5 separate regions of the Homo sapiens genome follow, and regions 2, 3, 4 and 5 are each linked to region 1. The links are contacts of gene promoters, found by promoter capture Hi-C in blood cells and fetal thymus (Javierre and others, 2016). All regions are on one chromosome and are shown on one strand. The core of a region is centred on a gene start or on the middle of the fragment in contact, and the rest is flanking DNA. Distances in the headings are between cores, read along the strand shown. Region 1 holds the start of RNF20 (ring finger protein 20). Region 2 overlaps CT70 (cancer/testis associated transcript 70). Region 3 holds the start of TRMO (tRNA methyltransferase O). Region 4 has its middle 23 kb from the start of CT70. Region 5 holds the start of NIPSNAP3B (nipsnap homolog 3B).

Evidence for each region. Contacts are between HindIII fragments. The CHiCAGO score rates a contact against its expected background, and 5 or more counts as called.
Region 2: a contact is called between a fragment that was not itself captured here and the fragment with the promoter of RNF20 in region 1, in 1 of 17 cell types (activated CD4 T cells). The highest score is 9.9, in activated CD4 T cells.
Region 3: a fragment that was not itself captured here is called in contact with the fragment with the promoter of RNF20 in region 1 in 1 of 17 cell types (fetal thymus); the score reaches 7.4 in fetal thymus.
Region 4: a contact is called between a fragment that was not itself captured here and the fragment with the promoter of RNF20 in region 1, in 1 of 17 cell types (total CD4 T cells). The highest score is 7.0, in total CD4 T cells.
Region 5: the fragment with the promoter of NIPSNAP3B here is called in contact with the fragment with the promoter of RNF20 in region 1 in 15 of 17 cell types (total B cells, non-activated CD4 T cells, M0 macrophages and 12 more); the score reaches 31.0 in total B cells.

What each region holds. Positions count from the first base shown.
Region 1 is chr9:101,532,019-101,536,520 of GRCh38, reverse strand. RNF20 (ring finger protein 20) reads right to left here and starts at 2,668. Exons shown (of 20, transcript NM_019592.7): 1 at 2,607-2,668; 2 at 969-1,123. The coding sequence starts at 1,097. It also overlaps a transcript of PGAP4 not described here. RefSeq lists an enhancer at 2,797-2,926. The HindIII fragment of the contact is 1,893 bases long and covers 897-2,789 here.
Region 2 is chr9:104,983,726-104,988,778 of GRCh38, reverse strand. CT70 (cancer/testis associated transcript 70) reads left to right here. Exons shown (of 4, transcript NR_184160.1): 3 at 1,366-1,465. Among named protein-coding and RNA genes, the nearest start is that of CT70, 5.5 kb to the left of the region's middle. The HindIII fragment of the contact is 1,325 bases long and covers 2,475-3,799 here.
Region 3 is chr9:97,922,251-97,927,116 of GRCh38, reverse strand. TRMO (tRNA methyltransferase O) reads left to right here and starts at 4,617. Exons shown (of 5, transcript NM_016481.5): 1 at 4,617-4,699. The coding sequence starts at 4,624. HEMGN (hemogen) reads left to right here. Exons shown (of 4, transcript NM_197978.3): 4 at 1-326. RefSeq lists an enhancer at 4,565-4,866. The HindIII fragment of the contact is 1,734 bases long and covers 2,750-4,483 here.
Region 4 is chr9:104,966,235-104,970,918 of GRCh38, reverse strand. No RefSeq gene overlaps it. Among named protein-coding and RNA genes, the nearest start is that of CT70, 23 kb to the left of the region's middle. RefSeq lists enhancers at 2,580-2,629, 2,710-2,759. The HindIII fragment of the contact is 4,642 bases long and covers 400-4,684 here.
Region 5 is chr9:104,762,685-104,767,413 of GRCh38, reverse strand. It overlaps NIPSNAP3B (nipsnap homolog 3B), which reads right to left and starts at 3,285. Exons shown (of 6, transcript NM_018376.4): 1 at 3,114-3,285; 2 at 879-1,089. The coding sequence starts at 3,173. RefSeq lists silencers at 2,970-3,159, 3,357-3,556. The HindIII fragment of the contact is 4,394 bases long and covers 417-4,729 here.

The DNA of each region.
Region 1 (4,502 bases), core at 1,419-3,918:
GTACCAGAACCTCAGGCAGCCTCAGAAATGACACTTCATCAACAACTCACTATGAATGTTCCTATTATTCTGACTCAAAAAAAAAAATCAGCCTCTCTAAAATAAACCTCAGCCTCAAAATCAAATAAGCAATAGATGTGGTTTTGCAAGCCATACAAATGTAAAGCATTTTACAAAATGTAAAACATTTTAATATCACATCCCCATGTCTGATTTTCAAAAAAGCAAAATCTTGACGTAGATCAAAACCTGTAAACTTCTGATGTCTAACAGATATATAACATTACTATGAGATTTTGGTATATAATACTCATTTTGTCAGCTCCATAAGAGCAAGGATAATATCTATGTTATGCACCATTATATTATCTAGCCCAATATTAGCTATGAATGCCTCCCATTTATTGACTATTTACTATATTAAATGCAAAGTGTTAGCCCTTAACAGGGACTCTTATTTTATATGCATAAAAATCTAATGTAGCAGGTACTCTAATTACATTTTACAGACAAGAAAACAGGCAAAGGAAGGATAACACAAGGTCAGCCAGCTAGGAAGTGGTACAGCTCAGAGTCAACTCCAGGCAATCTGGTCTCAGACTCTCACTCTTCACCATACTCTCAATGATTGCTAAACTGTCTCTTAGAATCTGGTACTGACTTTTTCAGTGAATGAAAAATAAATGTGTATCTTCCCACTGCTAAATACCTATAGTTAATGTTGTATCAGGCACCACCTTCCCAGATTCTCGAAAGAATATAAGTACACCTTGAAAACAAAGAACAACTATCAATCTACCTCTCCTCTAGAACTGACTACCACATCATTTTACCTACTTTCAGCCTGTTTTATTTCCCTCTTCTTTTCAAATAGCTTCCCCATACTCCAGAAAGCTTCCATGAATTTTTAGTTTCAAGTTGCAACTGACAGAAGACAAGCACACTTTCATGGCACTGTTTCCTCATACCGTTGAAGAGACACCTCCTAGCTTAATTGTTTCCACTGTGGTCCCTGAATCTTCAACAGCTGCCTTCTTCTCAGGAGGCATGGAGGTGCCAGGTTCTCCAGCTGCTCTTTTATTTCCAATTCCTGACATTTTGGCAGAAGAAGACAGTCGTTTTCCTGATAGAAAAAAAGGCAGAAACTGACATAATATATGTAAGCAAAGCAACAATAGAGTAAAACAATAGAGTAAAAACTAGCAACTTTTCTGGCCAACCCTTTAACCTGGATCCATTAATTCCACAACCATCTCCATATTTCTCTTTGAGGAAAAAAAAAAAAAATTAAATTGTAGAGTAAAAGTCAAGGCGGGCCGGGCGCGGTGGCTCATGTCTGTAATCCCAGCACTTTGGGAGGCCGAGGCGGGCGGATCAAGAGGTCAGAAGATCGAGACCATCCTGCCTAACACGGTGAAACCCCGTCTCTACTAAAAATACAAAAAATTAGCCAGGCGTGGTGGCGGGCGCCGGTAGTCCCAGCTACTCGGGAGGCTAAGGCAGGAGAATCACTTGAACCCGGGAGGCGGAGCTTGCAGTGAGCCGAGATCGCACCACAGCACTCCAGCCTGGGCAACAGAGCGGGACTCCGTCTCAAAAAAAAAAAAAAAAGAAAGTCAAGGCTAAATTTACATGACTATAAATTTCTAAATAGGATGGTGATAAGAATGGTGATAAGAAATGAGACAATGGGCAAAGGGTGAAGAGACCAAAAATAAAGTTCTGGAATCTCTCTTCCTGTAATGCCAAAATCAGAAAAGGGCAGTTTGATTATGCCAGAAGTTAATACTACAGTGTTGAAAGAATCACAGAGCTGAAAGAGATCTGTGAAATGCCTACTAAAGTCATTAGTACTAGACAAGTCAGTTATCATCTCTAAGCCTCAGTTTCCTAACCCAGGAATAAATAACCACAGTATATACTTCCTATGCTTATTATAAAATAAAATGGATGATATAATTATAGAAAGAATTTGGCACAAAGCCGAACACAAAGTAAGCACTCAGAAACCCCAGCTCTTCTTTAACGTTTGCAGTGTTTTCCCTATTTCCAAACGCTCTCTCCACTGTTTTATGCAACCCTACGTTAGTTAGACCTGGGTGCGAATTTCAGTTCTGCCTGTTAGAGGCCGTGTTGCTTTGAAACAGTGAATTCGCCAAGAGCTTCAGTTTCCTCAACTGCACAATATTAACGAATATATTTTTCGTCTGCCCTGCCTACCTCCCAGGGTGCTCAAAGGAGGCGGAATGGATGCTAAAGCACTTTGGCTACTTCAGGAAACAACGCAGCCATCACCGAGACTAACAAGACTACTCTGCTTCCAATTCAAGCTCCAGGAGAGGACTATCGCTGGCAACAACCTCAGTAGGACCTCGCCTGGAGAGAGAAGACACAGAAGCAGAACAAGGCTGCAATCCAACTCGCTAAAAGCCAAAGACCTCAGCCTCAGCGTGGATAATTGCAGGCCCAGGAGACTGACGGCCCCAAAACTGGAGAGGGTGGAGACTCCTGAGGCCTGGCACAGTCCTGTTGGGCCCTAAGCGTGATCTAACCTAAGTTCTTTGAACTGGCGCCGCGCGGGAACAGAACTCGCAGCAGTTACTCACCAAGGCCCGTGCAGAGATTCCAGCTCTCACCCCTGACCCGCGGCGGAGACAAGGCAGAACTTCCGGGAGGCGGGGCCACGGAGAGGAAAAAGGGAAAGAAAAAAGGAAGTGGCTTCAACCCAGCCCATAGGACTATGAGACCCCGCCGGGCGGAAGTGACGTACGGAGAGGGCACGAGAAGCTTGAGCAAGCGCCGCCTCCCTAGCAACGCTGGGCAAGCGCGGGACCCTCTCCTGGCTACGACCTCTAAGAGTACTCGGGCCTCGCTGATGCCTGACGGAGAGCCCTTGGCTTTTGTTGACTTGTTGACCTTTGCTACTGCGATCTGGTCTTTCTGCGGGGATAAAGTTCCTCATTCTGTTGCTTGTCATTGGGGTTGCCATCACTCGTTCAGACGGCCGATTGGCTGACGGTCCCGTCAATCTCCGGGGACATGACTAGCCTCAGACACCTCAGAAAATTGTTCGTTGGTACCCCTACGTGCTGAAATGAAGAGTTCTGGAGAGAATCTGAGGGATTTGAGGAATTTCAGATGTTGGGGATTTTTTCCCCCGCACAGGGAGCGGTATTCTGCCCTGTCTACACATTAGAATCACTTGGCCTGGACAAAAGCTTTTTTAAAAAAGCGTTCCCCTCATCTCCTCCCCCCAAACCCCGCATTTCCATCCACTAGATTCTAATGCGTAAGCAGGAGTGACAACTACTGCCCTTGTGCTTTTTTGGGAACAAGAAATTGTCCAGGGAAAAGATAAACGCCAATCAGTCTCTGATCTCAGTACTAGTCTATTTTAAGCTAATTAAGCATTGATTTTTTTTTTTAAGTTTATGACAAACTGCTATTTTCCATTCAGTTAAACTAAATGCGTTTTAATGATAGGACGGTAATTAATCTAACCTATTAATGAAAAGCTGTATGTCTCGCAGAACTATGATAAACTACCTAATGACGTCAGCTAAGGGTCTAGAAATGGAAGAATGATCGCTATATCTTTTTTAAAAAATAGAATTTAGGCATCTTGGGAAAAAAAGAAGCTAATCTACACTGGATTTCTGTTAGTGTGAAGACTTTTGTCCCTGTACCTGCTAGGGCTTACCTGTAAATGAAGTAAGATGGTCAACACCAGGGAAACAAGTGTTCCTGGTGCCTGGCAGTGGAACACCTTGACTATCTTGGAAAGAATTAACTGGCCCCAAGTGGACTTCACATTTCATTCCGTGAAGTGGGAGCCTGAGAACATGTGAGTGGGGACACACCTGCCGAAAAGCATTGTATGAGACAATGACACTCATTCTCTCATCTTCTTTGGTTCCTCTACTCTTAGCAAGCCTTTCATTCATAGAACTACTGAATGGCAAGTAATGGTTTTTCTAGCCCAGAAAACTAGAGGTTCACAGACTGCATTTAGCCAACAGTTATGCTTTGTTTATTTTAGACAGTATTGGCTGTCCTGCGTGGTTAAAAACAAGAACAAAAATGAACTTAGTTGCCAACATTTAAAATATGGCTATTTTACATAAAAATCCAAATTATCAGTTTCTCTAAAAAATGTTGATGATCTTGCAACAGAAGGGTTATATTTTTGCATGGTCACATTGCTTAGAGCAAAGTAGTGGCTTCTTCTTTTTTTTTTTTTTTCTTTTTTTCGAGACAGAGTCTTACTCTGTCACCCAGGCTGGAGTGCAGTGGCACAATCTCGGCTCACTGCAAACTCCACCTCACAGGTTCAAGCAATTCCCATGCCTCAGCCTCCCAAGTGGGTGGGATCACAGGCACACGCCACCACACCTGGCTAATTTTTGTATTTTTAGTAGAGATGGGGTTTCGCCATGTTGGCTAGGCCGGTCTCAAACTCCTGACCTCGGACGATCCATCCACCTCAGCCTCCCAAAGTGCTG
Region 2 (5,053 bases), core at 1,888-4,387, 3.5 Mb before region 1:
CCTCAGGGAGGAGTTGCATTTGTTTCCTCTAATCTCTGTCATCACCTTGGGATATTTCAGATTCATAAGGCCAAGCATAACATATGAGGCAGTGTGGTGTAATGAAAGCAGTGAGGGATTTGGTGTCAGACTGACGTGGTCCCATGGTCTTGACTCTGTTCACCCCTTCCCAACTAGATGACCTTGAGTGTACTCTTTAATTTCTCTGGTTCTCAGTGTTCCTAGTTATAAAATTGGGGGGAATCAGACCTACCTTGCAGTATTGCTGTGAGAACTAATTGAGATAATGTGTGTTTAATAACCGCCCTTGGCCGGGTGCAGTGGCTCATGCCTGTAATGCCAACACTTTGGGAGGTGGAGGCGGGCGGATTATTTGAGGTCAGGAGTTCAAGACCAACTTGGCCAACACAGCAAAACCCCGTTTCTACTAAAAATACAAAAATTAGCCTGGCATAGTGGCTCATGCCTGTAATCCCAGCCACTCAGGAGGCTGAGGCACGAGGCTCGCTTGAACCCAGGAGGTGGAGGTTGCAGTGAGCCAAGATCGTGTGCCACTTCACTCCAGCCTGGGCAACAGAATGAGACTCTATCTCCAAGAAAAAAAAAAATCCTCTTCTCTTTTCCATCTACATACAAACACAAATGAGAATGAGTTTAATTTCTGGCCAATAATTTAAAGAAGTCCTTAAAAAGATAATTTTTTAATCTTTAGCAAGGTTTTTGAGTGACAGACGTAGTGGTCTTTAAAAGTTTAGCCAGGTTTTTCTTTTTTCTTTCTTTTTTTTTGGAGACAAGGTCTTGCTCTGTTGCCCAGGCTGTTGCTCAGTGTTGCAATCATGACTCACTGCAACCTCAACCACCTGGGCTCAAGTAATCCTCCTGTCTCAGCCTTCTGAGTAGCTGGGACCACAGGTGCATGCCACTGCACCTAATTTTTTAATTTTTGTAGAGATAGGGTCTCAATACATTGCTCAGGCTGGTCTTGACCTCCTGACCTCAAATGATTCTCCCACCTCAGCCTCCCAAAGTGTTGGGATTACAGGTGTAAGCCACTGCACCCAGCTGGCCAGATTTTTAAACAGCTGGTTAGAGAGAACTTAATGGATTTTTCTGCATTATGGAACAAGAATTTGGAGTCTGGGGCAATCTGGAGTGAAGGCGTAAGGAGGAAAGATAGTAGGGGCTATGGTCTGAATGCATGTGTTTCCCCAAAATTAACATGTTTCAACTTAATCTCCAATGCAATAGTATTAAGACGTGGTCTTTGGGAAGTGTTTAGGTCATGGGGAGAGATCCCTTATGAATGGGATTAGTGCCCTTATAAAAAGGACTAAGGGAGCTTATTTGTCCCTTCCACCTTGTTAGGATACAGTGAGAAGGTACCATCTATGAATCAGAAAGTGGGCCCTCATCTGAACATGACCATGCTGGCACCACGATCTTGGACTTCTCAGCCCCCAGAACTGTGAGCAACAAATTTCTATTGTTTATAAATTACCCAGCATAAGATATTTTGGTATGGCAGCCTGAATGGACTGAGACACTAGGAAAAAGGAAGAGAGAGAAAGATTAAGGAATTCAGCAGGAGGCCAGATCTTAAAATGTGGACCTGGTCCAAGGCCTTAAAGAATAGAGATGACTGATACTGAATTTAAAATTGATTGGGTTCTGGGAGGCGGAGATTGTGGTGAGCCGAGATCTCACCATTGCATTCCAGCCTGGGCAACAAGAGCGAAACTCCATCTCAAAAAATATATATAAATAAATAAAATAAAATTGACGGTTTTTTTGTAATGTAAAACCTCCTTTTTTCCAAACTTTAATAAATGTCACTACATACGTGAACGCCTCTATAAGTTTCCTGTGAGTATTAATTTGAGTTAAACATCTGTGAGATACAATGTGGACTACAGCAAAACAATCCCTTACGAGAATAATTCTGAAGAAGCTGGTGTTGGGAGCCTGAGCTAATCAAGAAATATAAGGAACCCTTTGGAATTCAAAGAAGGCTTGGGAAGATTATTTGGTTTACCATAATCCATAGAAAAGGAGGTCTTAACCACTTATTTCCATCTGAGGGGTCAGGATAACTCCAGCTGGCATCTGAATTTCAGATGTAAAGAACCTAGCATAGAGTAGGCACTTCAAAAAGTGGAATTTAAACAATTTAATTGATTGAATCCTTATGGAGTTTTTTTTATGCCAGAACAATTCTAAGCACTTTACATATACAACACTTTTAATCCTCATTATAACTCTATATGTAATATTATTACCCCACTTGAAAAATGCATACACTGAGTCACAGAGAACGTACCACAGTTAGCAAGTGGTGATACCAAAGTTCAAATACAGGCACATGTATATTCTAACTAATAACTATTGTGGTCTCTGCAACTATAGCTGGCGTTACTCTGCACTGCCAAGCTGATGCAAGACTCCCTGTCCTCTGGGTGTAGGCACAATTTTAAGCTTATTGACCACCGACTGTGGAAGAGGTTCCAACAGGCCAGGAAGTTATCAGGAGGGGAGGAAGTGGAGAAGTAGCTTCAAGCCTGGAGGCTTTCTGCCCATGGAGCATGTCCAGTGTGGCCAAGGAAGACATTGTCTTCCCTGGCTGTTTGTTCTCTAAGCTAGAAATTATCTTAAGGAGATAGTAATGTGCAAAAAGTGATTGCTTTCCTGGCTGAGATGTCCTGAGGGGGATGGAAGTAAACAGACTTTGAAGGGATGGGATACTTAGGATGGCTGGAAGGCAGCCCAGGAGCTCTAAGGGGATACAAGAGAGGGCACTGCAAGGGGACAGTGATGTCACCAGGACACCGCGTCCCCCAAAGCCAAGGGAAGCAGTAGCTTAGTGGCTCATAGGACTGTGCCACCCTTTTCCACTCCTAGCACTCACCCTCCAGGCAACCTCAGGTGGCCTCTTCAGGCCTTTGAGAGATGCCAAGGATCATGGAATTGGCTTGGAGGGAAAAACATTATGGAAATCTAGGAGATGCTTGGCAGAGATGCCCCCCGCCCCTCCCCCCACCAAAAAAAAAAAAAAAAAAAAAAGAAAGCTGTTTGTGGGAACTGTGGCCATAGATTGCCATTTGTTGGAAGACCCAAAGAAAGCTAGTATAGTAAAACAGACCCAAGTTTGGAGACTGTTGTTAATTAATTTCTGTAAGCCTCACTTATCTCAAGTATAAAATGAGGATAATGACACCTACCTCACAGGGCTATTTATAAGATAAAATCAGAGAATGCAGGTGAGGATGCTTTGAAACTATAAATACACCACAGAAATGTTATTTGCATTGCTGAGAGAAACAGTGTTTGGAACATTGTTCATAATCAATCAACTCAATTTCCAGCTACATTTTGGTAGTCAAAATCCAGTCCCACCCCCAAATAGAAATCAGTGTCCCCTCATCAAAACTGAAAAGAAAAACACTTCGATTTGTGATTGGTTTGCATCAGCTTATTCCCAACAGATATTCCATAATTTTTTACACTGGATCTTTCCCCTCTGCTGCTAGCTACAAAGAGAGATTAGATGAGCCATCTGGCTGATAGGGAAAGTGCTTTCTCATCTTTTAAAGTATCTTCCTCATCCATCAAAGGGCTCAGCGTGATTGGATGCTTCTCTCATTTGCTCCCTCTTTTCTTCCTCTGGCAAGTCTCTGTGCCTTTCAAATTGTAAATAATTTCCCAGACACAGATTACCTTCTCTTGGGCCCTCCTGCACCCACCCCATCAACTGTCCCTTAGCTACTGATGCATTTTTCCTCTCACATTCTGGCACCCCCAAGCTTCCAAATAAAGATATTTAATAGCTATTCCTGCTCTGTAACAAGAAATCAATATACTAAAGGAAAATATAGATTTGGGGATGGAACAAAAAGGTTCTAGGAAGCAGAACATCTGTCGCCTTCATAAATTGTTCCAAAGCTTCTCATAAATGAGACAGTAAGTTCAGAGTTTCCCCTTTGATCTCTTTCACTTCATAGACATTAAAGGTAAAGGGCTATGACTCTTTGTTTTGTACTCATTTGCTAGATTCAGTTACCAAATACGTTTATGAGAAATATAGGAATTAAAAAACCTACAACTGGGAAACATCAGTCATGAATGCAGTGTCATTAAGAGGCAAGTTAATTATAATCAGAGTGTAAAAACAGTGGGCCTGAGGAAGAGAGATTATCCTTTTTAAAGTTGATATAAATGAAGTCTACAAACTGATAAACACTCAAAGCAGTCAATGTAGGTTATTTTATTCTCAAACCTGCTGCGGCTTGGACTTTTACCAAGTCCACTCTTCCATCCATAACCAGGATTTAATAATAGCTGTAATTATTAAATATTTATTCTGAGCATTGGGCTAGCATCTTATGTACTTTATCTCTTTCAATCTTCATAATAATATCTCGTGAAGTGGCAGCCTTGAAGATGAGGAAGTGGAGGCGATGGGCTGTTAGCCACTTTGCCCAAACTCCCCATTCTGATAAGCAGCAGGGCTGGCATGTGAACTCAACTTGTCTAACTCCAAAGTTCAGGCTCCGAAGTATTATTTAGAGTTCCTTCCCTCATTTCTGACATCGTATCTTCATTCAAATTTCCCCTCCATTTTTGGTTTCTGTACTTCTCATTCTAATAAATTACTTTTATAAATATTGCTTTATTGAACAAAGCCAATAGTTGTAATTATAAGAAAAACAACAATATCAGTTATCATTGGAGGGTTTACTGAATGTCTGTCCCTGAGCTGGACCCTCACAAACACAGTTAAATTCAGGTTTGAGGAATCCTGTACTCACATCTATTCTTCATTATCATCAATGTGTCAAGAAATAAGGGAAGAAAAATGAGAGAAAAACAAAACAACACTGGACTGAGAATCAAAAGTCCTGGAATTCTTTACTTGCAAAATTAACAGCCACTTTCTGTTTACTTTACAAAGTAATTGTGAGGCTTAAATTAGATAATGCATTTAATCATGCTTTGTAAACTAGTCAGATCTCTACAAGATGTTATAGTGAGCTATGTCAGTATTTAGTGTGTGATCTTG
Region 3 (4,866 bases), core at 2,367-4,866, 3.6 Mb after region 1:
GCGGGGAGGACTGGATAATTGGTTTTCCCCCCTAAGAACATTTATTTACGTCTTAAGAGCAGATAAGTGACTAAGACTGAACACATACATTTTGTGGAGTATATAGTTTTCTTGTAAATGCTGTTCAATTATTAATGTAACAGTAGCATCAAAATTTTATTCAGGCTTTAGTTGACTCTTTTGGTCAGTTTTAACAATTCTCCTTAAAAGATATTTTGGAGTGATGAATGTAGTTTACTTTTGTATTTGAATTTTGATTTTCTATTTTTATTTTTTAAATATTGTATTTGTGCACAATGTACATTAAATCATTATTACATGCTTAACTGTGTGGATACCATCATGTTAAGAATTGCGGAGGTTAGAAGACCTATCTAACACCCCACGGTGGGGTTAATTTGGTTTCATGGGGAAATAAAACAGAAAACAAATAATCACAAAAGAAAATAGTAAGGGCTGGTGCCATTTGAATGGTAGATACAAACAGAGAATGCTCACTTTTTGCTGGAGTGACCTGAAAAAATTACACAGGCATGAAGCCTTGAAAGACGGAAAGTATTTGCATAGATGAGGATAGCAGCATTACTGTATGTGACAAAGAGAAGGGTGAGTTCAAAACATGTTCAAGAGAACTGCAGGCAAACTATGGTTAATGTAGAGTCCATATGAAATAGTAGTAGGCTTGCATGCTGAAAAGCTCATATTACTAGAGCATAGAATATTTTGCTTACCTAACCAAGAAATATATCACTTGTTAAAAATGGGGAATGAAGTCAGATTTTTGAACAATGGAATGGCAATTTCACTATTTTAGGAATATGGTAAATATGGTGATAATGGTAAAGATTAACTGAAAACGACAAGAGACCGGGGCAGGAATAGAAGCTGTTCTGGATGGGAAGATGTCTGAAAATCTACCCTGGTATTTTTTGTTTTCACTTTTCCTTCTGTTATTACAGAGGACTAAGGATATTTTTGCAAATAAAGTTTCATTCAGCAAGAACACACTTGCACAAGCTTTCCATATAGACACTGTGCTAGGTACTAGCTATATCAAAGAACAAGACAGGGTCACAGTCCCTCAGGCATTCATGGTATAATGAACATGAGAGAGCAGTGGTTCTTTCAACCCTTCTGGTACATTAGACTCACCTGGGAAGGTTTCAAAAATACATATATGTCCAGACTTCTCCCCCAGGGATTCAGATTCCCCCATCTAGCTGATGTACAGGCATAGGTATATTTATTTTTTAATTGTTTTATGCTTCAAATAATAGTTTTTGGAGGAATAATTTTAGAATTACAGAAAAGTTGTCATGATAGTACAAAAGTTACTATATACCTTTCGCCCAGTTTACACCAATGTTAACGTCTTACATAACCATGGGCCATTTGTCAAAACTAAGAAATCAGGATAGTTACACTACCATTAACTACAGACATTATTCCGTTTTCATGAATTTTTCCACTAATGTGCTTTGTCTGCTTCAGGGTCCAATCCAGGATATAGAATTGCATTTAGGATGTTTTTATTTTAAAAGCTCTCCTGACAATCCTAAAGTGGAGGTAGGGTTGAGAACCAATAGTACAGTGGGATGTTACAATATTGTTTCCCTCCTATCTGCCTACCCCCTTTTGTGTGTACATTAAATTTTTTACCATCAGGATGTATTCATTGCACAATTATTCATACCCCTATTATATTTATTACACAACATACTGAGGGCAGGGCAGCACAACCACATAATAGTTTCGTCTCTTTTTTTTTTTTTTTTTTTTGAGACGGAGTCTCACTCTGTCGCCCAGGCTGGAGTGCAGTGGCACCATCTCGGCTCACTGCAAGCTCCGCCTCCTGGGTTCACGACATTCTCCTGCCTCAGCCTCCCGACTAGCTGGGACTACAGGCGCCCGCCACCACGCTTGGCTATTTTTTTTTTTTTTTTGTATTTTTAGTAGACGGGGTTTCACCATGTTAGCCAGGATGGTCTCAATCTCCTGACCTCGTGATCCTCCTCGGCCTCCCAAAGTGCTGGGATTACAGGAGTGAGCCACCGCGCCCGGCCACAACCATATAATAGTTTCTTACCTCTCAATGACACTTCAACATTTATACTTTCACATAAACTATTTTATTTGATCTGTACAAAAGTATGTGAAATAGGCCAGGCGGTGATTATCACTCTCACTTAAAGATGAGGGAATAACATAGAGGGAAGGTACTCACCCAAAGTCACATCTGACTTCCTCAGTGCTTTTTTTTCTTCTTTGGAATGTGCTTCTGTCTCAATTTCACCTGCCAGAGTGGGCCAAAATTAGAGGAAAAAAAAGAGTAAACTGAAGTCTCAAGTTCTAACAGCGTTGCATTAAGATGGACCTTAAGAGATTTGCATACGTACAGTGCACAGGAGCACAAAGATGAGATGGGGAAGGAGAGGGAAAGAGGAATGCAGTACATTAGAGGAAGCAGAATTTCTCTCTCCACCTCTCGGGACCCTTTCTGCTTGCCCTCTTACATCACTCCCTGCATTCACACACCACTTCTGCTTTCTCACCATTCTTGTTTAAACATCACTGTGCATCTAAAATTCTTCTGGCGTTCTTCTTGGCTTAGAACCTTTAGGTGACAGAATTAAAGTTTTGCAAGAATCCTTCTAGCTTGACTTTGTGCTGCCCTCCTCTCATGTTAGGTTAGAAACCCATGAACCATATGATATTATAGCCAAAATGATGTGTGGGACGGTTCAAAGCTTTAGTTGATTCTCAAAGGGGTCCTTCACCCAAATGAGAGGTTAAGAATCACTCTACTGAGAAGTGTTTCTCAAAGTAGTACAAGCTGAAGACTACATAATTATTTAGGTCATTTCTTTAAGGCAGATTTCTAGGTCTTACATCTGGAGGAGAGGTTAAGTCTTATAAACTGCAAATAATCACATATAATTCCAGACAAGATAATAAGAACTTCAAATCATAGACTAAAAAATGTGCTGCATATTTAAGTTCCCGTTTTCAGTCAAGAGAAATTTTACCTATAAAAGAAGTAGCAATCTATTTCCCTAGTATATTCAAATCAGCTTTGCATTTCAGTACTTGTCACACTTGGTAATTACATATTTTTTTGTGTGATTAACAACGTCTACCATGCCCTCCAGGAGGGCAAATATCTCTTTAAATCTAGTCTTTCCACAGATAAAGCGGGACTATCATTTTTAGCAACACCACCATCTAGTGGCAAGCGCAGTAATTCTGGCCCAGTTTTATAAACACACACATACACACACACGCGCGCGCGCTATATATATATAAAACAATGATTTTCAAACTTGTTTCTCCAGCTGCACAGAGCTGTCCCTCCTAAAAAAAATGGCAGCCTTTTCCAAGTTGTCCTGTAAAAATGACCTGCCAAAAGACACTATATGAATTTGATCAGTTTTATCTTATTTTTTAAACCACAATCTTTAATTATTTGGCTCCTCCTGCTGGTTATTTTCTACCAGAAATCAATGACAAATGGACAGACATGGAAACATCTTTTCATGGTTGTTAGACTTTTCAATCTGTGACTCATATGCTTTTGAATATTTTATACTGCAGATGTTAACAGATAAAAAGATAAAAGATTTTAAAATTTCTCCCAGAAAGAGAATTATATACAGAGAAACTTACTAAAGGTGAGAGACAGCATTACAAGTGGGTAAAAGATAGGCTATCATTGCAAGGACAACTGGTCATTGCATGGGATTAAATGATTCTTGTTAGCTCTTAGCTTCTCAGAGCTGTCCAGAAACGACAATAATCCCCACAATGCACATGGCATGTTGACTCTTATAATTCCATTCTCACTTCAGTTCCGGTAAGGTGTGGAGCACAAGAAACAGTTCCCACTCCTTAACCCCTAGCACATAGTAGGGCTCCTTTATAACATCCACCACACTTGAAATAAGACTTATTTGGGGTTGTTTCTGACAAAGCATAACTTATATTATGGAAAAATTTCCCACCACCCAGGGATAATTTTTTTTTTTTTTTTTTTTTTTTTTTTTTTTTTTTTTTTGATACGAGGTCTCGCTCTGTCACCCAGGCTGGAGTGCAGTGGCGCGATCACGGTTCACTGCAGCCTCAAACTCCTGGGCTCAAGCGATCCTCCCGCCTCAATCTCCTGGGTAGCTGGGACCACAGGTGCCTGAGAATTCTTAACATTTCTTAACGTCCAGTCCTTCCGCTCTGTGTTAATTACATATACACATCCCTTAAAAATTAGGGTCATACTGGACGTATAGGTTACTTAATAATGTTTCGAGAGAGACATAGTTGCGAGTTCTTCATGGAGGTGTGTTCCCTCTCAAAAAGCGCGGGAAGCCGGAGTCGCATTCTACCCTAGGAGGGCGGGCAACTGTAGCAGCTGTGTGTAAGATAAACGAGATTGGGGTCCCGGAGGGGCACACGCCCGGGATAGGGTTCGAAGCCCCATGGAGAACTCAAAGCTTCCCTCAACGCCACCCTGCGCGCGCACATTCTCCTGGGTTCGCGGGACCTCGCCGGCGAGGCCACTGCGCATGCGTCAGGCATGGAGAGCGGAAGCGGAAGGTTGAATGCGTCGGGTGGGCACCTCAGCAACCAGTAGCCATGCGCGGCTTGGAGGAGTCGGGGCCTCGGCCTACAGCGACCCCGTGCGGCTGCGTTAAGCCGGCTCTGGAGACAGGTAACTTCCAACACCGGCGGTGCCACACTCTGGAGAGGTTTAGGCCCAGGCAGCGGACTTCGTTGCCGAGAGGGGTGTAAAACGCACGATCTGGAACTGACGTGCGTCATTCTTTTACCTACGGCGAAGGCACGGGTCACGTGCTGCGGAGACCACGTGATGTGCTT
Region 4 (4,684 bases), core at 1,471-3,970, 3.4 Mb before region 1:
ATGTCAGCATACTAACTCCTTCCTTCAAATTTCAACAGCAGCTATTATGCAGCATGATCATCTTCCTCATACTCTAGACCTCCAGCCAAGTGACTTCTGGCTCTTCCCAACTATCAAATCCCTAAAGGAACGAGATGTTCCTGTGCTGAGGAGGTCCAAAAGAATGTGCTGTAGATTCAAAAGCCATTTCCACAAGGAGCATTCCAAGGATATTTGAAGAAATCCAGAGTCCCTGGAAAGCACAGCTTCTCCAGATGACCACCTAGAAGAGGGTAGCATCTCCGTACCTGTGCTGGTTGGCTCTTAAATAATCAGTCCCTTTCCCAGGCAAGGCTCATGGGGAGCCTTTGGTGTGATAACTTCTTATATGCTAATACAATAATGGACAATTCCAAAGCTTAGCAGAGAGCCCCCATTAGCAGATACTGCCTTCTCCATTCAGGTTTTTGGAACCACGCCAGGCAGTTATGTGCATCTGCCTTCCTGTTCCAAACTTTGTATAAACATGTACCTCTATTTTCTTCTTCTTTTTTTTTTTTTTTTGGTGGCGGGGGGTACGGAGTCTCACTCTGTCACCAGGTTGTAGTGGAGCGATCTCGGCTCACTGCAACCTCCACCTCCCAAGTTCAAGCGATTCTCCTGCCTCAGCCTGCCGAGTAGCTGGGACTACAGGCATGTGCCACCATGCCCAGCTAATTTTGTATTTTTAGTAGAGACAGGGTTTCACCATGTTGGCCAGGATGGTCTCCATCTCTTGACCTCATGATCTGCCCGCCTCGGCCTCCCAAAGTGCTGGGATTACAAGTGTGAGCCACTGTGCCCAGCCTACCTCTATTTTCATCTCCACCTCTCCCAACAGACTCTGGGCACAGACATGAAGGTCAGACACTGGACTCATGCATTCATCATTTATATGTCTATTTGACATGTATGAAAAGGCCACTATATGTTAGCACTGCTAATACAATGGTGAACAAAATAGTGCTGCAGCTTCTCAAGCAAGGCAGGCAGGCCAGGTAGGGTGGCTCGTGTCTGTAATTCCAGAACTTTGGGACGTTGAAGCAGGAGGATCACTTGAGCCCAGAAGTTTGAAATCAGCCTGAGTAACATTGTGAGACCTCCTCTAAATTTTTTTTTTTTAATTAGCTGGGCATGGTGGTGCACGCCTGTACTTCCAGCTACTCCAGAGGCTGAGGTGGGAGAAGGATCGCTTGAGCCCAGGAGTCTGAACTTGCAGTGAGCTATGATCGCACCACTGCACTTCAACCTGGGTGACAGAGGGAGACCCTGTCTCAAAGAAATAAAGAAAGAAAAGAAAAGAAAACAGGCAAACAAGCAATCATATAACAAAGTGTGGCTAATACTATCCTTTGGGAAATACAGAATACTTGATAGGACAGCCTGGTCTCCCTGGGGGAAAGGAAACTTTTAACTTAAGATCTGATGTACATCCTTTCCAGGGCCCAGCACAAAGTATGTGCTCAATGTGAAACATTACCCTGGGCAAAATCCTCCGGGCTTGCTGGAGAGGTCACTCACTAAGGGGCAATTGTTAGTCAATTTAAGAGTGGTTGTGGTGAGCCAAGGGCCCAGGGCCTGAGCATTCCGAAAGCCAGCTAGCGTCAGGTGCAGCTGGTCACCTCATTCAGCTCTTTCTGACACATTTGTGAAGTGGTAGGAGAAACAATAGACTTAGAACTCCTGTAGGGTTCAGTCCCAGGGTTCTGCCACTGATTACATTCGTGTGTTCTCACTTGTCCTTTTGTATAATGATGCCACCTTCCAGAGCAAAGGAATCTATGAAAGCCTGTTGCAAATGTAAGGACATGGAATCTATTTATCTAATCTATCGCCTGGCTGTCTGAATTTGCAGGGGAAGAAGAGGGCAGGGTAAACAATAAGTTTAGGAGAACTGGCAGGGGCACTGCCTTGTAGGGCTTGTGCCTCAAGCCTTTTGTTGTCTCGCATGATCTGGATTTGGCAAGGAGGGGGCAGCTTGAATTCCGGGCGGGCTAAAAGGCCTTGGCTGAGGTCTAACGGATTTCACAACACAGTATGGAAAGGCTTCCCACGAAGCGATCGGGGTGGGGGATGGGGAAAGCTGCAATTCTGCAAACTGGGAAAGGGTAGGAGGTGGGAGGTTCCCGAAAGCCAGGATGGAGTAGCGATTAAAACCCTTGATTACTGACACTACCCAGCACCCCCAACCGACCCCCTTCAAATCTCTGCCTTAACAACCGCAGCCTACAGGCAGTGTTATCACAAACTTGCACCGCAGGCCCTACCTATGAGCCCAGTCAGCCCTAAGGCAGCAGCCAGCCCCTGAGTGGCACGGGAGGAGCGGCCCCCACCTCCGGCAGCCGCGCATGCGCGCCGCTTACTCTGCGTTCCAACACCTCTAACACTCATCAACGGCGCCCCGATCCGCAGATTAAAGGAGCCTTCTCCCCTTTTACCCCCGGCTGTGCCCCATGCTCAATACACAGCAACTCCAGAGTCCATAGGCAGCTGTGCGGCGGTGGGGGTAGAAGGAAACGAGTCAAGAAGCTCTCGGGCCCGGCCCGAAACTACAACTCCCAGCAGACCCCGCGCCGCCCCGCCTTCTTGTGGGCGGGCCGAGGGTACCCAGCAGCTTAAAGCGGCGAGATCGCGACGTGTGTGGAAGGCTGGGTGCATGGTCTGCGCTCTGTGATCCGGCGCTGGGAGGGTGGAGAGAGCGGTGGCATCTTTCTGTCTTGCCTGTTGTACCTGAACTAGCAAACAGCACAGTTGAAATAACCTCTGAGCGCATTTAGAGGCGTCTCTCAGGTTCAGCAACTTGTTGCCCCTACTTCACAAATTCTGCATTGTTGGTTTAGCAAATGAGAACCTGAAAAATCGCCTGTATGTTAAATTTCTTCTTCTTTTTTTTTTTTTTTTTTTTTTTTTTTGAGACGTAGTCTCACCCTGTTGCCCAGGCTGGAGTGCAGTGGCGCGATCTCGGCTCACCGCAACCTCTGCCTCCCAGGCTCAAGAGAGTCTCCTGCTTCAGCCTCCCAAGTAGCTGGTATTACAGGCGCGTGCCACTACCACCCAGCTAATTTTTGTATTTTTAGTAGAGACTGGGTTTCACCATGTCAGCAAGGCTGGTCTTGAACTCCTGACCTCAGGTGATCCACCCACCTTGAGCTCCCAAAGTGCAGGGATTACAGGCGTGAGCCACCGCGCCCGGCTAAATTTCTGTGAAAATAAATTATTTTCCCTACCATGTCCAAGCAACCCTATTTTTTTTCCTAGTTTGCAGGTGTCTGTGGTTGATGTTTACTATCACTTATTTTCCCTAAAGACTCAACACACAAAAAAGAGGGGAGTCTGTTTAAAGAAATTCTGCAGTGAATCATCCTGAAAACGTAAAAACTTGTTTTGATAAGTTTTATACTTTAATTTTCTAACTTTTGTAATGAAGTGTCTTTAAAATGCAGCACACTTGAAATCCTTTTTTAAAGTGCAGAGTTAAGTGGTATCCTAATTTTTGAATAGGACGCAGAGAAGTTTAAAGAGGTTTAAGATCTACTCTTTGCTTCTTGCTAACGATGCAAAACGATGGTTCTTAGAGGGCACGAGGGATAGCTACCTTCTAGAATAGTGCTATTGGTCTGCACGACTGTAGTGGGTTTCTTGAACGGTGTAGTTTAGACCGTGATTTCTTACAGCCGCTAATGAACATCCTCCACATGCTAACGATGAACTCCTTTTGTTTTTGTTTGTTTGTTTTTTCCAAACAAATACAATTTAAGGGCCTCCATGGGAGTCATTTGGGAACTTAAATGCAGAATGGTTTAGCGTTGGATTTTTTCTTTGTTTTTGGAGTTAGCTTCAGCCTGCTGTTTTATGACCATGTGTGTGTTCACTCTCTTTAGTGTGGCATTTATGGATAACATGAAATTGGCCAACTTGGCAAAAGTTAACAAGATACATAATTTTTTATTTGTTCTTTGTGTGGGGCAGCCCAGCAATAGGCATACTGAAAAATTGAAATAATAGTTGATGTATAGTGATTTTGATCACTAGAGCAGCTATTGTGTTCTGAACAAACCCCCCATACACTGTGAAACATTAAAAGGGAGGAAGCAATACTTGCGATATTTAGTAATATTTAGATTTTTCCTTTTTTTTTTTTTTTTTTTGAGATACAGTCTCGCCCTGTTGCTCAGGCTGGAGTGCAATGGCGCGATCTCGGCTCCACCTCCTGGGTTCAAGTGATTCTCCTGCCTCAGCCTCCTGAGTATCTGAGATTACAGATGCACGCCACCACACCTGTGTGATTTTTTGTATCTTTAGTAGAGACGGGCTTTCACCATGTTGGCCAGGCTCGTCTCAAACTCCTGACCTTGTGATCCACTGGCCTCAGCCTCCCAAAGTGCTAGGATTATAGGCGTGATTCTCAAATGTTCTTCTTTTTTTTTTTTTTTGAGATGGAGTCTCACTCTGTTGCCCAGGCTAGAGTGCATTGGTGGGATCTTAGCTCACTGCAAACTCTGCCTCCCAGATTCAAGTGATTCTCTCATGCCTCAGCCTTCCAAATAGCTGGGATTACAGGCATGGGCCACCATGCCAGACTAATTGTTGAAGTTTCTCTATTTTGGCCAAACTGGTCTGGAACTCCTGGCCTCAAGTGATCTCCCCGCCTCGGCCTCCCAAAGTG
Region 5 (4,729 bases), core at 2,036-4,535, 3.2 Mb before region 1:
CAGACATGGAAGTAACAAACATTCTGGGGATTCTTGTTACTTGTTCTCTTTCCTCTACTAAACCAGGGGTAGGTCAGCTTCAATATGGGAAGGACTGTCTCTCATTCCTTTTCCTTACCTCCCTAGGGTAGTATGAAAGAATTCCTTGAAACTCTGGGGTACAGAAATGAAAAAAGAAGTGGTCTCTAAACATAACAGAATTATTAAATCTCAGAGTTGGGTGACGCTTAAAAGTTAACTATCATCCTTTAAAAACCTCCATTTTTATAAAGCTCCCAAATGGGTGAATTATTTCTGCAAAAATGCTGATATCCAGCCCTAGCTGTAACAATAATAAGAAAAAAAAAATTATCTTATCCTAATGACACTCCTTTACCCAAGAACTGCAATTAGGAGTCTCATAAATTTACAAAGCTTTCTCCCTTATTTAGCCAGTATTCCATCTTCGTCAATACCATATACATTAGTTACACATTTAAAACATTTTTATTAAATATACATGTCTTTTGGCAGGCCCAACGGTGATCTTAACCCACTTGAACATTTACAATTACTGCTTTAAATTTTTCATGAGCTATCTTTATAGCAAACGATTCTAACATTTTTCTGAGGATTAAAGTCTAATTCACAATTTTATGGTTTGATATATGAGACTGCATGTTTTCTCATTTATGATAACATAAGAGTTCAAGCAAGGGGTGGTTAGAGGTGTACCACTGGGAAGAAGATCTGCTAAATTTATTTTTTTGGTATTGCTTTTAAAAAGTCTTACTTAACCTGTATGTATCTATGGTAATATAGATCCAAGAACTAAGTCTTATGTTACATTTAACAGAATGAAAATCTATACTGAATACTAAAACTGGATGACTCTTTACCATACTTCCAAATATGAAACACTTTATTCGTTCTGCCTCCAAATTCTACACTCCAGAATCCAACCAATTCAGAGTAAGAGGTCCGAAGATGAATGTTTTTCTTAAGATTTTCCATGAACGCATTCATATTTGAAGGTTTAAGGTAATAAGTACGAAATTCATAGAACGTTCCATCGTATTGTCTAGGGCCCGTAGCAAAAGATGAACACACCTGAAGGAGGTAAGACAAATGTAAATATCTTGGGAAGGTACAATTACAGATTTGGTTACAACCAAATCTGAGTCTGGTACAAGGAACACACATAGACTCATTATCCATTGTTTACTTTTGTTGTCAATTCTCCATATACACTTGTTTACATAGAGATGTCAATAAAGATAACTACTCTTAATTCTGATGAATATATAGCAACTGTTTCCTAGCAGGGGTCTACCTCTAGCCATTTTTTCACGAGAATTTGCTCACAAGAAGGCTGTGGGATCATAATGATACTCCTTTACCGAAGAACTACATTTAAGACTTAGTCTCTTTAATTTACAAAGGGTTTTCCCCTGTTTAGCCAATATTCCATCTTACTCAATACCATATGTATTAGTTCCACACATTGAAAAAAATTTATTAAGTACACATGCCTTTTGGCAGGCCCAAAAATACGTTTACTAACAAAAAACTCTTGTTTTTAAAAGGTTCCTAAAAAAACAGGAAGGGCTATTCAGGTCAAAGTATTTCCTGAATCTACTGATGAAGACTACCGGTCAAAAACAGGACTGGAATGTAACTAATATAAAAGGAAGCTATAACTTATCCAATTGCATTGTACTATGGGTGTATACTGCATAAAGGCTGAAAAGGAAAAAAACTCAACAAATGAGAATTGTCTCCATCATTGTTTCTAATTACAGATGCAATATCAAGAAGTATGTACATTTAGTGCACTCAATTATACCAAGTTTATGGAACTATCCTTTAAGAACCACCCTTTGTAATAGTCATATGCCCAATGGGTAAATTTTCTGTCCTAATCTGGCCCTCTGAGCCTGAGTGAGCTTAATGTTCAGTAGCAAATGCCCTGTCAGAAATTATCCAGTCTGTCTGTATGTACGTACATGCAAATATTTATGTAAACACACGTGTATACACAGACCACTCCCGTGGCATTCTAGTTTACAAATCCATTCATTTAGGCATGGTTAGCATGTGACAATTTCCTGAGGCTCACTACCCAGAATAATCTATCGCAACAGTTTCAGTAGGCATCTTTCACTGACATATTTTTGGTTACAACATGCAAATGTCTATGTAGTTTGTGTGCATAACGTCTTAATTATAATTGTCTATCTTGAGTTCATTCATCTCCAGTATGAGTTATGCCCTTATTGCCCAAGTGTCTTAGTTTTCTTAGAAAACCCTTCTTCATACCAAAAAATACCTGCAACTATCCTTTCTTTTGATGGCCATTCTTTTTGGGTCAGTTTAATCAAATTCTGAAAATAAAAAACTGCTTAGTATCTACAGTTTAAAAATATTATTATCTCGGAAAATGGGCCAATGAGGTATTTCTAATAACTGCTTTTAAAGTTGATTTTCGGAGATTTGTATCTGGAGATGTTATCCTAAAAAAACGCAACAGCTGGCGCCACGGGGGTGTCCCGGGAGTTGTGGCATTTAGGCTAGAAACAGCTGGCATCAGGCTGGGCACAGTGGCTCATGCCTGCAATCCAGCACTTTGGGAGGCCAAGGTGGGCGGATCACGAGGTCAGGAGTTCGAGACCAGCCTGACCAACATGGTGAAACCCCCGACTCTACTAAATAGTAAACACAAAAAAAATTAGCCGGGCGTGGTGGCTGGCGCCTGTAATTCCACCTACTCCGGAGGATGAGGCAGGAGAATCGCTTGAACCCGGGAGGCGGAGGTTGCACTGAGCCGAGACTACGCCACTGCACTCCAGCCTGGGCGACAGAGCGAGACTCCGTCTCAAAAACAAAAACAAAAATCACAAAAACACTGGCATCCAGTTAGAAAACCCCTCTGACAGCGACTGCCAGCGAGACGACCCCGGCCTGTAGCCTCCTCCTTGCGCGCCAGACGGCTCCAGAGACCGCGTTAGAACTTCGGCGGCGGCGCGGGGCCCCAGGTCTGGGAGCGCCTGAGCGTGGCTCGCACGCTTCAGAAATACCCCCCGCCCCTCCCCTCCCCTCCGGCCAGGGCTCGGGCGCGCCCCCGCGGCCAGTACCTGAGGCGCGAGCGTCCGTGAGGCAAGCGCCTTGGTCAGGCCGCTTCTGAGAACGAGCATGGCGCGGCTTCGGCACTGAGAAAAGCAGCCAGCCGAGTCCTTTGTGAGACTTCTCTGAAGTCTTCCCGAGTGGAAAAAAGCGGCTCCTGGACCACTGGCGAACTCAGGCAGGGGCGGGACTCGGCGGGGTCAGCTCCACCCCGGCGCGGGAGGCGCGACAGGTCCCGCAGTTGGCGTCTTTCTCTTCGGCGCTGAGCCTCGGTCCCCCTTGGTTTCCTGAAACGTTCTTGCCCCAGACGTTAGAGGTGACAGAATTAGCTGAAGGCTGGGATCGTTCCTGCCCCACCTTTCTGGGCCCTGACCTCATTCGCTCCGATGCGCAGTTGTGTAGATTCGTAAATGTGCGGCGGTTGTGCTTGTGTTGCCCCTGGAGAAGGAAGGGGAGGTGTTCAGCGTGTGCATGTGCAGTGCTTTGCATTTAAAGTCGAGATGTTGACAGGGTTAACTTGTTTCTTTGTTTGAGACGTAGTCTTGCTCTGTCGCCCAGGCTGGAGTGCACTGGCGCGATGTCGCCTCACTGCAAGCTCCGCCTCCCGGGTTCACGCCATTCTCCTGCTTCAGCCTCCCCAGTAGCTGGGACTACAGGCGCCCGCCACCACGCCCCGCTAATTTTTGTATTTTTTAGTAGAGACGGAGTTTCACCATATTGGCCAGGCTGGGACAGGGTTAACTTTTACAGGTTGTGATAGACGTGTATTTGTAGACCAGTGAGCCTTCGCTTTTCTGCATTATCTGTCCCCATTGCCACCCCACTGTGATCTTGGAAGGCTCCTAATAAAGATTTAATTTTCCATGAGCTCAGTGGAATAGCAGCACCGAGCCTGATAGGAAAAAGTCGAAGTTAAACATAGATAGTTTGAAACTAGATCGTTCTGTAAGCCTTAAGAGCAAAACAGCCGACCTCTGGTCTAGTCCTCCCAGTCCCAGAGTACTGGTCCCCAGACTAACCACCTTCAACATTTTAAGCTGTTCTTCTAATACCTGTTTCCGTATGTTTTTTATTTTTTTGAGACAGAGTCTTGCTCTGTCGCTCAGGCTGGGGTGCAGTGGCATGATCTTGGCTCACTGCAACCTCCGCCTCCCGGTTTCAAGAGATTCTCCTGCCTCAGCCTCCTGAGTAGCTGGAATTACAGGCGCACGCCACGACACCTGGCTAATTTTTCTATTTTTAGTAGAGACGGCGTTTCACCATGTTGGGCAGGCTGGTCTTGAACTCCTGACCTCAGGTGATCCTCTCGGCTCAGCCTCCCTAAGTGCTGGGATTACAGGCACGAGCCACTGCGCCTGGCCCGTATTTTTAAATAATAGTCATTTTCTGCTATTTCTTGCATTTTCAGTTATGGAGAGTATGTGTTGCCTTCCTTCTGTGGCAGATGAGGATTTAGGTCTCACAGAAGCCACTCCCCCGGGGGCTTATCATTTGTGTTGAGAACATTCAATATCCTCCTAGCAATTTGAAACTATATATTATTAACTATAGTTATCCTGAAGTGGTATAGAGCACTAGAACTTATTCCTCCTATCTAGCTATAATTTTGTTTAACAAATCTCTCCCA